Linked DNA regions of Homo sapiens: all the other regions are linked to region 1. Evidence: promoter capture Hi-C in 16 types of primary human blood cells and fetal thymus (Javierre and others, 2016). All regions are on one chromosome and are shown on one strand. The core of a region is centred on a gene start or on the middle of the fragment in contact, and the rest is flanking DNA. Distances in the headings are between cores, read along the strand shown.

Evidence for each region. Contacts are between HindIII fragments. The CHiCAGO score rates a contact against its expected background, and 5 or more counts as called.
Region 2: a contact is called between a fragment that was not itself captured here and the fragment with the promoter of POLR3B in region 1, in 2 of 17 cell types (total CD8 T cells and fetal thymus). The highest score is 6.0, in total CD8 T cells.
Region 3: a fragment that was not itself captured here is called in contact with the fragment with the promoter of POLR3B in region 1 in 9 of 17 cell types (megakaryocytes, endothelial precursors, fetal thymus and 6 more); the score reaches 9.4 in megakaryocytes.
Region 4: a contact is called between a fragment that was not itself captured here and the fragment with the promoter of POLR3B in region 1, in 1 of 17 cell types (megakaryocytes). The highest score is 5.6, in megakaryocytes.

What each region holds. Positions count from the first base shown.
Region 1 is chr12:106,355,877-106,359,643 of GRCh38, reverse strand. It overlaps POLR3B (RNA polymerase III subunit B), which reads right to left and starts at 1,896. Exons shown (of 28, transcript NM_018082.6): 1 at 1,693-1,896. The coding sequence starts at 1,764. The HindIII fragment of the contact is 8,226 bases long and covers 1-3,767 here.
Region 2 is chr12:107,086,902-107,090,668 of GRCh38, reverse strand. All of the region lies in intron 1 of CRY1 (cryptochrome circadian regulator 1), which reads left to right. Among named protein-coding and RNA genes, the nearest start is that of CRY1, 4.8 kb to the left of the region's middle. The HindIII fragment of the contact is 914 bases long and covers 1,408-2,321 here.
Region 3 is chr12:106,886,339-106,890,105 of GRCh38, reverse strand. RIC8B (RIC8 guanine nucleotide exchange factor B) reads right to left here. Exons shown (of 10, transcript NM_001330145.2): 10 at 790-3,767. Among named protein-coding and RNA genes, the nearest start is that of TMEM263-DT, 67 kb to the left of the region's middle. The HindIII fragment of the contact is 167 bases long and covers 1,672-1,838 here.
Region 4 is chr12:106,870,522-106,874,288 of GRCh38, reverse strand. It overlaps RIC8B (RIC8 guanine nucleotide exchange factor B), which reads right to left. Exons shown (of 10, transcript NM_001330145.2): 9 at 3,347-3,466. All of the region lies in intron 2 of LOC105369961 (a long non-coding RNA gene), which reads left to right. Among named protein-coding and RNA genes, the nearest start is that of TMEM263-DT, 83 kb to the left of the region's middle. The HindIII fragment of the contact is 6,623 bases long and covers 1-3,767 here.

The DNA of each region.
Region 1 (3,767 bases), core at 647-3,146:
AAAATACAGTTTTGCAGCCGGGCACGGTGGCTCACGCTTGTAATCCCAGCACGTTGGGAGGCCGAGGCGGTGGATCACGAGGTCAGGAGTTCGAGACCAGCATGGCCAACACAGTGAAACCCCGTCTCTACTAAAAATACAAAAATTAGCTGGCGGTGATGGTGGGCGCCTGTAATCCCAGCTACTTGGGAGGCTGAGGCAGGAGAATTGCTTGAACCCGGGAGGCAGAGGTTGCAGTCAGCCGAGATTACACCACTGCACTCCAGCCTGGGCGACAGAGCTAGACTCCGTCTCAAAAAAAAAAAAAAAAAATAGTTTTGCCTGATGATCAGCAGCCTATTGCATGCACTTATAGACTGAATCTGTTGGAACTGCTAATTCAACTTCCTTAACTTGTCAAACTATTATAAAGAGGTTTTGTTTTGTTTTCCTTGAGACAAGGTCTCAGTCACCCAGGCTGGAGTGCAGCAGCACAATTACGGCTCACTGCAGCCTCGACCTTCCAGGCTCAAGTGATCCTTCCACCTCAGCCTCCTGAGTTGCTGGGACAAGTGCACGCCACCACACCCAGCTAATTTTTGTATTATTTGTAGAAACAGGGTTTTGCCATGTCGCCCAAGCTGTTCTCAAACTCTTGAGCCCAAGTGATCCGCCCGCCTTGGCCTCCCAAACTACTGGTATTACAGGCCACCACGCCTAGCCAAGGAGGTTCTTATAATCCGATAGACTTACTGATCATGTCACTTTCCTGCTTAAACCCTTCAAAAGCTCTGCTCCAAGACAAAGTCCAAGCTCTGTCAGATGTTTATTGAAACTTTTCATAATCAAGACCCTTACTTAACCCTGTCTTTTATCTCTTCTCCTCTATTTTTCTTCACTCTAATACTACTGGATTTACTTTCCTTCCTCAAAAACATCCAATGGTCTTGCCGAGGAGGTTTCAAGTATCCTGTTCTCTTTCCCTGAAATCTCTCCTTTGCTATCTTCTCCGGCCACGTCTCCACTTCCCTATTCCACGTCAGTGTAGATTTTGAGGCTCAGAGAGATTACAAAATGTGCCTTATCAGATAACAAAATATGTCGACAGCCGCACTTCACTGGGCAGCTCGCTGTGGGGCAGCTGTCCTTAACTTCCGAGAAGCTGATGAAAGCTGTGGAGTCTCTCCCCCAGAAAACACACAGGCAAATTCTTTAGTAAATATTGAGGGCGTTTAAAATTCCCCTGCAACCCAAACTGGAACTTCAAGTTAAAAGGAAAGATGACTAGCTTGGAATTCAGACGATCTGGTTTTACCCCCACAGCCGGCTGTGGTGCCTCATGCAAATGGCCTGAGCTCCCTGGCCCCGTGTCCTCTGTAAGACTGCAAACATGCAATACGTCCCCCACAGTAAGTGCGAGGGTCAGTCCTCCCCACGCACACCTATGCTGGAAGAGCTCCAACCCTAGAGCCAGCAGCGGGGCTTCTCGGCCCCCGCAGCGGCTGACAGCTCCTCTGGGATCAGCCTTCACTCGCGCACGCGGAGGCCGGCTCTGGAAAAAAGACTCGCAAGCGCGACGCTCTGGGCATGCGCAGAAGCCCGGCGCATGCGCACAAACCGCCAGCCCGCCCCCTTGGCGGCCCGAGCACTCCGGGCAACGCCCCCTCAGGGCGCATCCTTGTCCCTGACGCTCCCTGCGTGCCTGGCACTGACCTCTACAGTCGGGATCGGCGCCGCCAGCTGCTCCGGAGTCAGGTTCCCAAACTCCTCCGCTAGCACGTCCATGCTGCTCACGAAGGAGGAAGAAACAGATAGAACCTCCGCGCCCGCCTTCCCTGCACCAAGCAAACTGCAAGACTCCCGGCGAACGGTGCGCGGAGGCCTAAACTGTCCCCGCCGTGCGTGTTAGCTAGAGACGCGGTAGAAAGGTTCCGCCCGCTCCCTGCCCGAATCTGCGGTGGAACCCGGATGTGGCCGAGGCCGAGTAAGGAAAGTACGCCCTCTGGTGTAGCTCGGAGGTCTGGCGCAGGGAATCCTAAGCCCCAGCTGTCAGGTTTCTTGCCAATTCTCTGGTAATTGAGACCAGCAAAACATAGTGGTTGTCATTTTAAAAGTAATCCGAAGAAAAGTGTAAACGCATAATTTACGCAACTTGAACCACTGAGGCAGAGAATTATTTAATGTAGTCCAAAATTCTATGCATTGTTTAGTATGGAAGAGCAGGAAACGTCCCAAATGCCTACCAATAGAAGATTGATTAAATAAATGATGGTACATGCGTGTAATGGAAGAGTGTTGAAAATTCTCAAAAGCACTAGATGGAAGATGTAGGAGTAAATACCCAGCGCATGGAGAAATTTAATATGAAAAGATGACATTTACGTTAGTAGGGGAAGGATGGCCTGTCCAGTAAATAATGTTTGAAGAGCTGATTACCCATTTGGGGAAAAAATACATGTAAGTGAATCTTTTGTGGATTAAATATTGAAATGTTAACAAAAACTTAGAAGAAAATGTAAGTGCAGATATTCATAACATTGAGATGTTGAAGACTTTCAAGACGGCAACAGTCAAATCATAAAGGATTTTATAATCTAAACACGATTTTATGATTCCACGGAAAATTTTTAATTTTCTGAACAGATTTTAAAAAATCACCAACAAATAGAATTAATAAAAAATAAATTGGCAGAAGACAAAGGGCTGGTCTCTCTAATTTAAAATGAGCTCATACAAATCAACAGAAAGAAAAATCCTATTAGAAAAAACAAGGCAAAATGCACCAATTAATTAATGGGTACGGAGTTTCGGTTTGGGAAGATGCAAAAGTTCTGTAAATGGAGAATGGTGATGGTTGCACAACAGTGTGAATGTATTTAATGCTGCTGACCTGTACATCATTTTAAAGGGTTAAAATGCTAAGTTTTATGTATATTTTACAACGATAAGAAAAGTTATGAAAATTTGTAAGTACATATATGCTTTCCAATTTCTCCCTCATAAAGGTAGAACCCTTGCACCAGGTTAATTATTCTTATTTACTAAAGAGCTACTTAAATTTCAGTACTTGTATTTTCTTTTTTTTTTTTTTTTTTTTTTTTTTTGAGACGGAGTCTCGCTCTGTCGCCCAGGTGGGACTGCGGACTGCAGTGGCGCAATCTCGGCTCACTGCAAGCTCCGCTTCCCGGGTTCACGCCATTCTCCTGCCTCAGCCTCCCGAGTAGCTGGGATTACAGGCGTGAGCCACCGCGCCCGGCCGTATTTTCTAAGTATTGCACTGATATCTGAAATACGAGAAGAATGGAAAAAACACCAAAAGTAGAATCAACCCTGCCTTTGAAGTTCTTACAATTTACTTATTACAGAGACAAGATACAACTTGTGTCTCATCATTGTGCATTACCAGATTGCAACCAATTTAGCATCTAGCCTAGAAGGGACTGTGAAAGTGATTTATAGATGGCAGAGGATCTCAAGGTTGGCTCAAGTGTGTTGGTTGTCTGTGCCAAAGTCTTCTTTGCTTTCCATTATCAAGGTGATTCTCCGACTTTAGGGTGTATCAGAATCACCTGGAGAGCTTGTTAAACTAATCTCAGCTTTCTGATTGGTAAATTGGGGCTGAAATTTTGCTTTTTTGGTGGGGGGCGGGGATGGAGTCTTACTCTGTCGTCCAGGCTGGAGTGCAGTAGTGCAATCTTAGCTCACTGTACCCTCCCAGGTTCAAGCGATTCTCCTGCCTCAGCCTCCCGAGTAGCTGGGATTACAGGCGCGTGCCACCATACTCAGGT
Region 2 (3,767 bases), core at 615-3,114, 730 kb before region 1:
ATGCCAGGCACTGTTTTAGGTGCTAGAGATCCAGTATAAACAAAACAGCCCCCAATTCTCACCCTGTTGGAGCTACATTCTAGTGGAGCCGTGAGACTGACAGCATTAATAAAATGAGATAGACAAGAGATGCAAATGGTGCAAGGGCTGAACCTTGAATACTCTTAATGTTTATAAATTGTGGAGCTGTGAAAGAACCAGCATATGAGACTGCGAAGGAGCCACTAGTAATGTAAGAAGAAAACCCAGAAGAGTATGGTGTCTTAGAAGCCAAGTAAAGAAAGTATTTTGGTCAGGCATGTAATCCCAGCACTTTGGGAGGCTGAGGCAGGCAGATCACTTGAGGCCCGGAGTTTGAGACCAGCCTGGCCAATATGGCAAAACCCCGTCTCTAGTAAAAAACACAAAAAAATTAGATAGGCGTATGGCACATGCCTGTAATCCCAGCTACTCGAGGAGGCTGAGGCAGGAGAATCGATTGAACCCAGGAGGCAGAGGTTGCAGTGAGGCGAGATCGTGCCACTGCACTCCAGCCTGGGCAACAGAGCCAGACTCTGTCTCAAAAAAAAAAAGAAAAAGAAAAAAAAGAAAGAAGGAAAATATTTCAAGGAAGAGTGTTTTACTTACGTCAGATGCTACCGATAGGTCAAGAGGAGAACTGAAAAATAAAAATTGGATTTAGCAATTTTAGGTCATTTGGAATTTTATCTGGAGTGGTTTTGGTAGTGTCAGAGGCAAAAGTCTTTTTGGAATCACTCATAGTACCAAATTCAGTGCTTTTTATATAGTAGTAGCTCAATTATTGTTTGTTGAATATAGTGATATCTTGGAGTCAATAATTTTATATTTAAACAGCTTTATTAATTTACTTATTGACTATGGGATAATGCCCAAATTCCTTAGCCTGGCAAGATCTACCTTTTGGCTTATGTATTTCATTTTCTGCTGTTTACAATATGTGATTTCAACTCCAGGGGGAAAACCCTCTTAGTTTTCTTTAGAAGCTATCTTGTATTTTCTTCGGTCAACACTTTTTAGACTTTTGGATTTAACAGAAAAGCAAAATTTTAAATAGTATTCTACCTAATAAGCACATTAACAAAACCACTTTTTGATATTGCCATCCTTTCATTTAAAAAGGATGTTTTATATTTAAAAAAAAAAAGTTTGGCAGAGCTCAATGTCTCATGCCTGCAATCCCAGCTACTCAGGAGGCTGAGGCAGGAGAATCACTTGAGCCCAGGAGTTGGAAGCTGCAATGAGCTATGAATGGGCTACTGCACTCCAGCCTGGGTACACAGAGAGACCCTATCTCTTAAAAAACAAACAAACAAACAACAACAACAAAAAATTTGAAGGACATTGTCTCAGAATAACATGTTTTTGATTTGGGTAAATTTACAAGCTTTATGAAAATTTGCATCTCTTAGAAAAATTATCCTATACAAAAACTTATACACTAACATTCACAGAAGCATTATTCATAATAGCCAAAAGGTGGGAACAACCCAAATGGCCATCAGTTGATGAATGGGTAAACAAAATATGGTATATCCATATAATGGAATATTATTTGGCCATAAAAAGGAATGAAGTACTGATATACGCTACATGTATGAATGAACCTTAAAAACAAACTAAACGAAAGAAGCCAGTCACAAAATTCCATGTGTTATATGATTCTGTTTATATGGAATGTCCACAGTGGGCAAATGTATAGAGAGAGGAAGCAGACTAGTGGCTCCTTAGGACTGGGGAAGCTAGGGAGTTGGGAGGTGATAGCTAAGGGGCACAAGGTTTCTTTTTGAGATGATGAAACTGTTCTAGAAGGTGATGGATGATTGTACAACTCTGTGCTTGTCTGGGATGATTAGCAGTATTCTGAACTCTTGCACCACTTTTTGCTGTTGCTCCTCACATCACTCTTAGCATTTGCTGCCCTCATTTGTGAATGTTAGTATTGTTTTATTAATAGTTTGTTTGAGCTGCTATAACAAAATACCTTTAGACTAGGTAGTTTATAAACAACAGGAATTTATTTCTCACAGTTTTGGAAGATGTCCAGAATCAAGGCACCAGCAGATTCAGTGTCTCTGCTGAATAGACGATGCTTTCTCTGTCTCCTCACATGGCAGAAGGGGTAAACAAGTTCCTGCAGCCCTTTTTATAAGAGCACTCCCTTAGTCTGTTTGTGTTATTATAAAGGGATACCTGAGGGTGGGTAATTTATAAAGAAAAGAGGTTTACTTGGTTCATAGTTTTGCAGGCTTTACTAGAAGCATGGCTTCAGCCTCTGGTTCTGGTGAGGACCTCAGAAAGCTTTTAATCATGATGGAAGGGGAAGTGGAGCTGACATATCACATGGCGAGAGAGAGAGGGGAGGGATACCAGTCTCTTTTTAATAATTAATTGTTCTGTTAATTAATAGAGTGAGAAGTCACTCATTACGTGATAGCACCAAGCCATTCATGAGGGATCTTATCTCATGTTCCAAACACCTCTCACCTCCAACATTGGGGATAACATTTTAACATGAGATTTGAAAAGGACAAATATCTAAACTATATCACTCCACTTCTAGCCCCCCAAATATCTTGTCTTATTTATTTATTATTTTTATTTTTATTTTTGAGACGGGGTATCACTCTGTTGCCCAGGCTGGAGTGCAGAGGCGTGATCATGGCTCACTGTAGCCTCAACCACCTGGGCTCAAGCAGTTGTCCCACCTCAGCCTCCCAAGTAGCTGGGACCACAGGCATGCATTACCATGGCCAGGTAATTTTTTTTATTACTTGTAGAGGTGAGATCTCACTAAGCTGTCTCATACTCCCGGGCTAAAGCAATTCTCCTGCCTCAGCCTCTGAAAGTGCTGGGATTATAGGTGTAAGCCACCATGCCCACCCTCTTTTTTCTATTGTAAGATATAATCATCTCTTTCAAAGTCCCCAGAAATCTTAACTAGTTTCAACATCAACTCAAAGTCTAAAATCTTATCCGAGACTCAAGGCAGATTCCTTATAGCTATGAACCTGTAAGATCAAAAACAAGTTATCTACTTTTAAGATACAATGGTGGAACAGACATTGGGTAAATATTTTCATTTTAAAAGGGACAAATTGACCAACAAAAAGGGACCCACCCAAGTCTGAAACCTACAAGGGCAGACATTAAATCTTAAAGCTGTAAAATAATCTCGCTTGACTCTTGTCCCATAACTGAGCACACTGGTCCAAGAGGTGGGCTCTTGAAGCCTTGGGCAGCCCCATCTCTATGGCTTGGTTGGGCACAGACCACATGGCTTCTTTCATGGATTGGAGTCTAATGTCTGTCACTTCTCCAGGCTGAGGGTGTGTGCTGTTTTCATCCAAAGGATTCTTTTAATCTTTCCACTTCCTCACTTTCCACTCCCTCCCACATCCTGAGCACACTGGTCCAAGAGGTGAGCTCTCAAAACCTTGGGCAGCTGCATCTCTATGGCTTGGTTGGGCATAGCCCACATGGCTGCTCTCATGGATTGGAGTCTAATGTCTGTCACTTTTCCAGGCTGAGGGTGTATGCTGTTTACATCCAAAGGATACTTTTAATCTTTCCACTCCCTGACTTTTCTTTTCCTTTTCTTTTTTTCTTTTCTCTTTTCTTTTCCTTTCTTTCTTTTTCTTTCTTTCTTTGTTTCTTTCTTTTTCTTTTTCTTAACAGTATTTAACACATTTGACCACACCTTTCTCTTCTTCTCTTGGCTTTAGTTAGACTGCCACCACTGTGGGTCC
Region 3 (3,767 bases), core at 506-3,005, 530 kb before region 1:
GTTCATTGTCTACAATTCAGGGCATGTAGGTTTCATGATCTCCAGTCCCCTCCGCTTTAAGAAAGGCTGCTCTGATATTCTTTGATGTTTCTTAGACCTGGAGACCTGGTGCAGGGACTCAACACAGTGCTCAGAGTCAAACCACTTAAAGTCCTCTCTAGATACCTCTCCCTTTCCTTAAACCTTCTCATAGTTGCTACAAATATCTCCCTTCCTCACCCATAATTTGTTCCTTGAACAGTTTGTTCTCCATATCGTGCTTATCACACACCTATTCTGACACGTGTTACCTTGCTTTTCAAAACTGAGAGTCACACATCACTCCCCAACCCTGTGTGTTCTCCACTTCTGGAACTGCAGTGAATATCTCCAAGAAAATTAATGCGAATAACTGGACTAAACACTAAACATGGTTGACGTCTTTTTTTTTTTTAATGCACTTTTCTAAGTCACCTGGCTCCCTCGCTCCCTTCAAATAACTCTTCTTGACAAAAACTATAGTTATCGGGGCACTTACTCTAGCTGTTCTGACTTGTGCTGCCGAGGCTTCTGTGAGACTGTTGCTGTGTGGCAGAGCAAGCCTGCTCCTCCTGGTGCCACCCCTAGTTCCTGCTGCTCTTCAGCACTAACAACTCATGCTGCCTTCTAGAAAGGCAGCAGGCACCACCTTTTTAAATTTTTTTTTTTTTTTATGGGCGTGGTGGTCATGATGTCTTCTGTTAGAAAGAATATTGGGAAGGAAACTAGCAGTGTCTGCCACAATTCACATAATGGAATATCATATAGCCATTACTTTTTGAAGAATATTTATTGACATGGGAAAATGCTCACAATATGTTAAAGAAAGCAGGATACAAATCTGTAAATACAGCATGATCCCAATCTTGTAGTAAAATAAATTATATATGCATAGAAAAAATACAGGAAGGAAATACACTAAAACATTAACAGTGATGATCTCAGGATGGTGGGATTTGGGGTAAATTATTAATTTTATTTTCTGCATTTTCCAAACTTTCCACAATGAACATATATTACTTTTATAATCAGAGGGGAAGAGGTCAATACAGGTGACACCTAGTCCTGGGAGGTGGCGAGACTGATGTGGCACTAAGGGGGTGTTTAGAGTCACTTGTACTGCCTCATTCTGTGTCCTCATTTATAAAGAAGGGATAATAACACCTGCCCTGCCTGCCTCCCAGGACTACTGGGCATCTGAAAGGGTCACAATATCTGGTGATTGTTCCTCTGTAGCAGCAGCTCAAATGCTTTATTTTAGGACACACGCCTCCGTACCCTGCTTCCAAGGTCAGGAGAGTTGTGGGCAGAGAGGCCAGCCTGCAGCCTTGGTCCCTGGCCTATCCTAACGGATTCCAGGTCTTCATTGGAAATCCAGTGCTGACCATGCAAGTTTCCCACTCATACTTCCACTTCAGGTCACTTCCCTGCTTAAAAACCTCTTTAAACTAGTTCTGTTGAAATAGTTATTGCTTAAAATGGCCTGAGAATGACCACCCTCCTCACACCACTCTGTTCCCAGCATTTCAGAGCCCTAAGGAGGCACAGTGTGGGCCCAGGTGTGCTGTGGGGAAAAGGAAGGAGTGGTGCTGGGAGTCAGGCCACCAGAGTTGGACTCTTCCTTGCTGTGACGTGGGGTAACTTTCATAAGCTTTCTGGAGAGGATCTTTCATATGCGATAAGGTGAGGTTACATGAGATAACATACATCAAAAGCCCAGCATGTAGTAAGCACTTAACAGATATTAGTTCTCTTTCTGTGTGCCAGATGAAGACACTCTCATCTTCTTCCCCGCAAACTCTCTTTTCAAAAACAAAGCTTAGTGCCCAGTGCAGAGAAATGCAAAATGAAACAGAACTCACTGAAAGCAGAAGAGCACAGCTACTGAAACAGGACTGTTCAAACACTTACTCTGCATAAAGAAAGCTGGTAAGATGGCATTTCATTAAACACATCTTCATTTAGGTAAGCTGACATGCATGCCAAAGCTATTTGATTATAGAAATTATAAAAATACTTTAAAAATGCATTTGTAGAATAACAAAAATACTTAAATTTTTTCTAAACTTTTCACTTAATCTAAAATTATGAATTGCCCATTTCTTTTGCTGTTGGTTAAAACCTGGGTCACTCACCTCTCCCTCAAACATTTTGGATGAAATTCTAACATCTATTGTCTTCTTCCTACCCTTTTATAAAGCGTTCTGGATTTAATTTCTTCTTTTAAAAAAACTCAGGGTCACCATTATAGGAAGTAGTCTACGGGCCATACTGTTGTACACACATTTTCTGGGTCAACTAGAGTATCCTTTGGTAAGTAGACAGTCCCAGATTTGCTATGTCTTGAAGTTTTATTCTTCTCATCTCACTATCTAGTTTTCAGTTGGCCTTTTTCTTCTTTCAGTATGCCTGCCTTCAATCTAGCAGCCTCTTTCTTTGCCATTCTTTTGTGAGCTTCAAAGCCAGCTAATAAAACATGTTGGAAGCGTATGCAAATTTCAGTTCAGAGTCTAAGAGTGATATTCTTGAAGATCTCTCCCATAAGTAAGTTGCAAGAAACTTTGTGACATCTCCTCTGGCAGCTGAAAGGCCTTTAAGACGTAATTCCTGATTTTTTTGCTTTGCCAGAGAGGTAACTTCTGGATAAATGACCTTTTCAGTAACCCTCCATGTACTCTACCTGTCCTTAAAAAGGCTATTAGAAGTGGGACCATGGATGTAAAAGCACTTTAAAAAAGCATAAACTGTGAAATAGTATTGTTTAGCCCATGTATCTATAAAGAAACACACACAGATGGCCAAATTGAATCAACCCCAATGTTTTATTTAATTTAAAGTTTTAAAAGGCAGTGGTTAAGCACATTATGTATATATGTATATATATGAATGTATGTACGTGTGTATATACATACATATATATACAGGAAACCAACCCCTTTTCAACTTTAGCCACTGATGAGCTAGGCCCACTGTCTAGTGCATGACTCACTTTCTACTTCTTCATAGGACCAATTCTAAAAGTAAAAATAAACACCCTTTATCAGTTTAACAGTAACTAATTGTGTTTCTTTTTTTTAAATAAATAAAGTTACTATTAAACTGATCACATATGGTAGAAACGTAGAACTCACACACACACCAGCACACACAGTCCCCAATTTAAAATGTGATGTATGAATGACCTATATGTACAAATGGGTGCTGCTGACTCCCCCACCCCAAGCAGAGGCCATGAAAGAACTCCCATTACTCAGGGAGTCCCCATTCTCTATGCTGGGATGGAGGATGTGTGTGTTCCTGGCACCCCGGGTTAGACCTCAGAATGCACACTCCCCATGCGCTGATACAGATGGTGGTTCAGTTCTATGGTACTAGTGTTCAGGTACATTAGGGAATAAATAGGCATTTGTAGCTGCCTGAGAACTAAACCATCATTTATAACTCTTTATAGGGAGAAATGTATTCTGAAGTTTTAGCTAACTGACATACAAACTTTTAGAGTATAATCAGTTTGTAAGTCTGAGGCTGTGTGTGTGTTTCTATATATTTATACAAAATTGATATGAAGAATGGGGCTAGGTTTATGGAGCAGCTGCTAGGCTTCCATTTGGTGAGTTCTGATCTAAGAAGTCGCTTGCCCAAGGCTTTATTTACCAGCTCTTTCTGCTTCTCACGTGCCTCTGGCTGCTGGAGAGATTCAGAAGGGGCCACTCACACAAGTGAGGGGAAGGACATGGCTAAATCTTCTG
Region 4 (3,767 bases), core at 830-3,329, 510 kb before region 1:
AGAGTGAAAGGGAGGGAACTAACCAATAGTACAATGCTGACAGGGTGATGAGGAAGTGTTCTGGCAAACACTTACTATAACAGACAGACACCGTAGTACAGTGGACAGAGCAAACGTCTTGAGTTCTGGAAAATGAAGGTCTAGTCTCACTTTTTAAAATGAAACTAGAAAGAGGATGTATGTGAAAGTGTTTTATAAACTGTTAAAAGGAAATGAATTATCATCAGTCATTAGCTTGGAAATGCTTTGGGCAATTCTTTGGTACTTGCTTCCCCCAATGATAAATCTGATAACGTACTAATCAAATAATGATAAAACAACCTGAGCTCTTTAGAAGAAATAAGTAGTATGTGACTATCCAAGACTTATTAACAAGATTAAATTTCTCTCCACCTGGAATGAATGGTCATTTTTCCATTTTTCTATTAAATACATCAAAATTCTAGGATCAGCACAAATGCTAGCTTTCCTGTGAAACAGTCCCTGAATCATCCAGACAGAATGAACTACTCCTTTTCCTGCATGCTTACATTTCAACATAGAACTCATTTTGTCATTATTTCCTTCTACCTTGTATTCTAGACTAGATTACAGTCATTTCTTCCACTAGAATGTGAGTTTTCCAAAGGCAGAGACTGTCACATTCTCCTCTGAATCTTCCTCAGGTTCCTAGCACGATGCCTTGCACAGAGTAGCTGCTTAGTAAATGTTCCCTGAATTGTACTGAGTTTAGTCTATTTTGGCTTTATGGCATCTTTTTTTACCTCAAAAAAAAGTGGAAAGAGAGAAGAAACTTAAGACTAATGAGGAACACAGCACAAAAGACATGTAAGACGCATAAAGAATGACTTCATTCTTTGCATTACTGCTTTGGAATGCCCACTGCTGATCTTTATACAGTTTTGTCATTGATTGTATTTAGTGAGAGCAAATGTTAGAAAGCACACAAAGGCAGACAATGTAAAACGCCCAACACACGTCATGCAAAAATTCTGTATGATTTGAACTATTCTCAAGGTTGCCTTTTGCTTCAACTTTAATGGCAAAATTGATACCATCAAAGCCAACATAAGACATATTTGCTCTGCTTTAAACATGCAAAAATCAGTGTCACCTTCAGTTGGGCATCTGCTGGGTACTTCCGGATAAGTAGGCATCTTCTTTGAGGCATAGTTTAAATCAGGTGGAAGCTGGGGTATTTCAGACTTGACGTTTGTATATTTATTTGTTGGCAGCTTCTAGAATATGTGGATTCCCCTGAGATTAAAAGGAGAAGGACCTAGCACCTTTGTTTTCTGTGCCTGTGATAGAGATGCCTTATGAAATGGTAGTTCCTCTATTAGTAAGCCAAGTATCTGGATTATACTGTGTAGTCTTAGGCAGTTATTTCCCCTGTCTTCCATTTCCCTACCTGGAGTTTACTCATCCAGGGTAGATGGCCCAGTTAAATGGCATTTGTGTTAAACTTTAAAAACTCATGTTGTTGGTCAGAATATGAAATTTATGCAACTGGTTTACTGTCCTAACACACTAATGTGTTCTACTCAGGTCCTTGCTAACCTTTCCTCTCCAGTTTCTACCAGATGGACTCTGTCGGGTTTGTTTTTTTTTTTTTTTTTGAGACAGAGTTTTGCTCTTGTTTGACCAGGCTGGAGTGCAATGGTGCGACCTTGGTTCACCGCAACCTCCGCCTCCCAGGTTCAAGCGATTCTCCTGCCTCAGCCTCCTGAGTAGCTGGGATTACAGGCATGTGCCACCACACCCGGCTAAATTTGTATTTTCAGTAGAGACAGGGTTTCTCCATGTTGGTCAGGCTGGTCTCAAACTCCCGACCTCAGGTGATCCACCTGCCTCAGCCTCCCAATGTGCTGGGATTACAGGCATAAGCCACTGTGCCCGGCCTGACTCTGTTGGTTCTTATCCTGTTGTTTTTATACCCCTGTGTTTCATTAGCTACATCAGCTCCTCCTGGAAGTGGCCAAGCACACATCTTATCTTTATATATTCATTTTGATCTTATTCTGCCTCCTATAGGTTTGCCCTATCGGTATCTTCTCTGTGACTATTAATCCCTTCTGGGAGGGAACATTTCTGTTCTATACAAAGGTATGGAGAATGTAATTTGCAAAGAGGCAACAATGTCTTTTGAAGATTGTGAATATAGTCAGTTAGCTGTAAATTCTAACCTTGAGAAAGGATGAAAATTTAAAAGGGCTAGCTGGAAGTTACTGAGTTCTAGTCTTATTAGCTTTGTAGATAATTAAGCTATTTACTCCTAAACAACTTCTACCACACTACCAGCATCATACTCTGCAGCGTGGATAAATATCCATACTTGTCACACTCCCCATGTCAGTCTCTTGTTCTTGTCCATTTCTACCCCTAAGCCTCTGCTGTGCCCTTAATCTCTGCTCGTTTCTGTGTTCCACCTTTCCCTTTCATGGTTGGCTCTCTGGCTTTTCCATTCCAATGGCTCCTTCTTTTGACTGAGGGATACTAGCCTTTACACAGTTACTGTGAAAAAGGGGATGGCCAGAAGAAATGCATCTTTAAGTGGCAGCTGCCACCAACACACAGAAGCATTCATTCAAGATGGCTTAAAGAAGATAGTGACTCAATGTATGACTAGAAAATAGAGTGACTCAGCCAAGTATGAAAGGAATTATTTTCTAATAACTCCTCCAAGATGACTAGTTGCTGATTAGTATATACTTGATTTAATTATTTCAAAACTGGTTATTTTTGAAGGGGAAGGAGGTGAGAAGCAAGAGGGGAAGGGGAGTTTTTTGGTTTTTTTTTTTTTTTTTTTTTTTTTTTAGAACTCCTAATTAATACAAGTCCCTGTTTTCAGAAAATCCTTCATGTGAGCTATTTCTTTTCACTTTTTCTTATTGGGTGCATGACATTTTAGAATTCTTGGTTTCAGCAGCAACCCAAAAAGGCGTAATTGCAAACTTACACATCAAAAATGAAAAAATAAAAGCATCATGATTTGAAACAAAAACTAAAACAGGCTAAAACAAAAATACAAGCAGCAGCAAAATCACTGAATCTAACTCACAGCATCTTTTTGAAGACAGGGAGGTTAGTTGGTTAATTATTACAGTGCTCTGGTAGTTACTATCTTAGCTTTGAGAGTTTAAATGTTTAGGAATGCACATCCAGAAGCGGCACATGTAGAAAAACCATGGTAGCCAAGAGCTATCTGAACTACTGCTGCCTGGGCCACCCTATTCCAATCAACATGGATTTCCAGAGTTGCTGTTCTATGGTAACTCTCAGTGAGAGAGACAAAGAAATAGACCATTTTTAGAAACCAAGCAAAAAATGGATGGGAATACAATACCTGGAAAGTTTATCAAGCATGTTGACAAGTTTCATGGCTTCATATTCTTTTTGTTCTTCTGTCATTTCATCTATGGGGTTTGGCATTGGTTCCTCTAAATGACCAGTGATAAGATTAATGCTACAAAAAGAAAAAAAAGTTATGCTGTATGTTTTAAAATTATGCTCTTTCTATACTTTTCTGGTCCAACTTTTAAGTGATAATAAGAAAGAGTATAATAGCCAAAAAATTGGCAATAATTTCAATTTTATGGTATAGAACTGATATAGGAATTTTTAAAACTGGACTTTTCCACTAATTTGCTTTGGGAAATGGGCTATACTTTTTTTAAAAAACGAAAACTGTCTTGCCAACTTTTTTTTTTTTTAGAGGCATGGTTGCTTTTTAAAAATACAAAATTTGATTAGTGCCGTTAGGATAT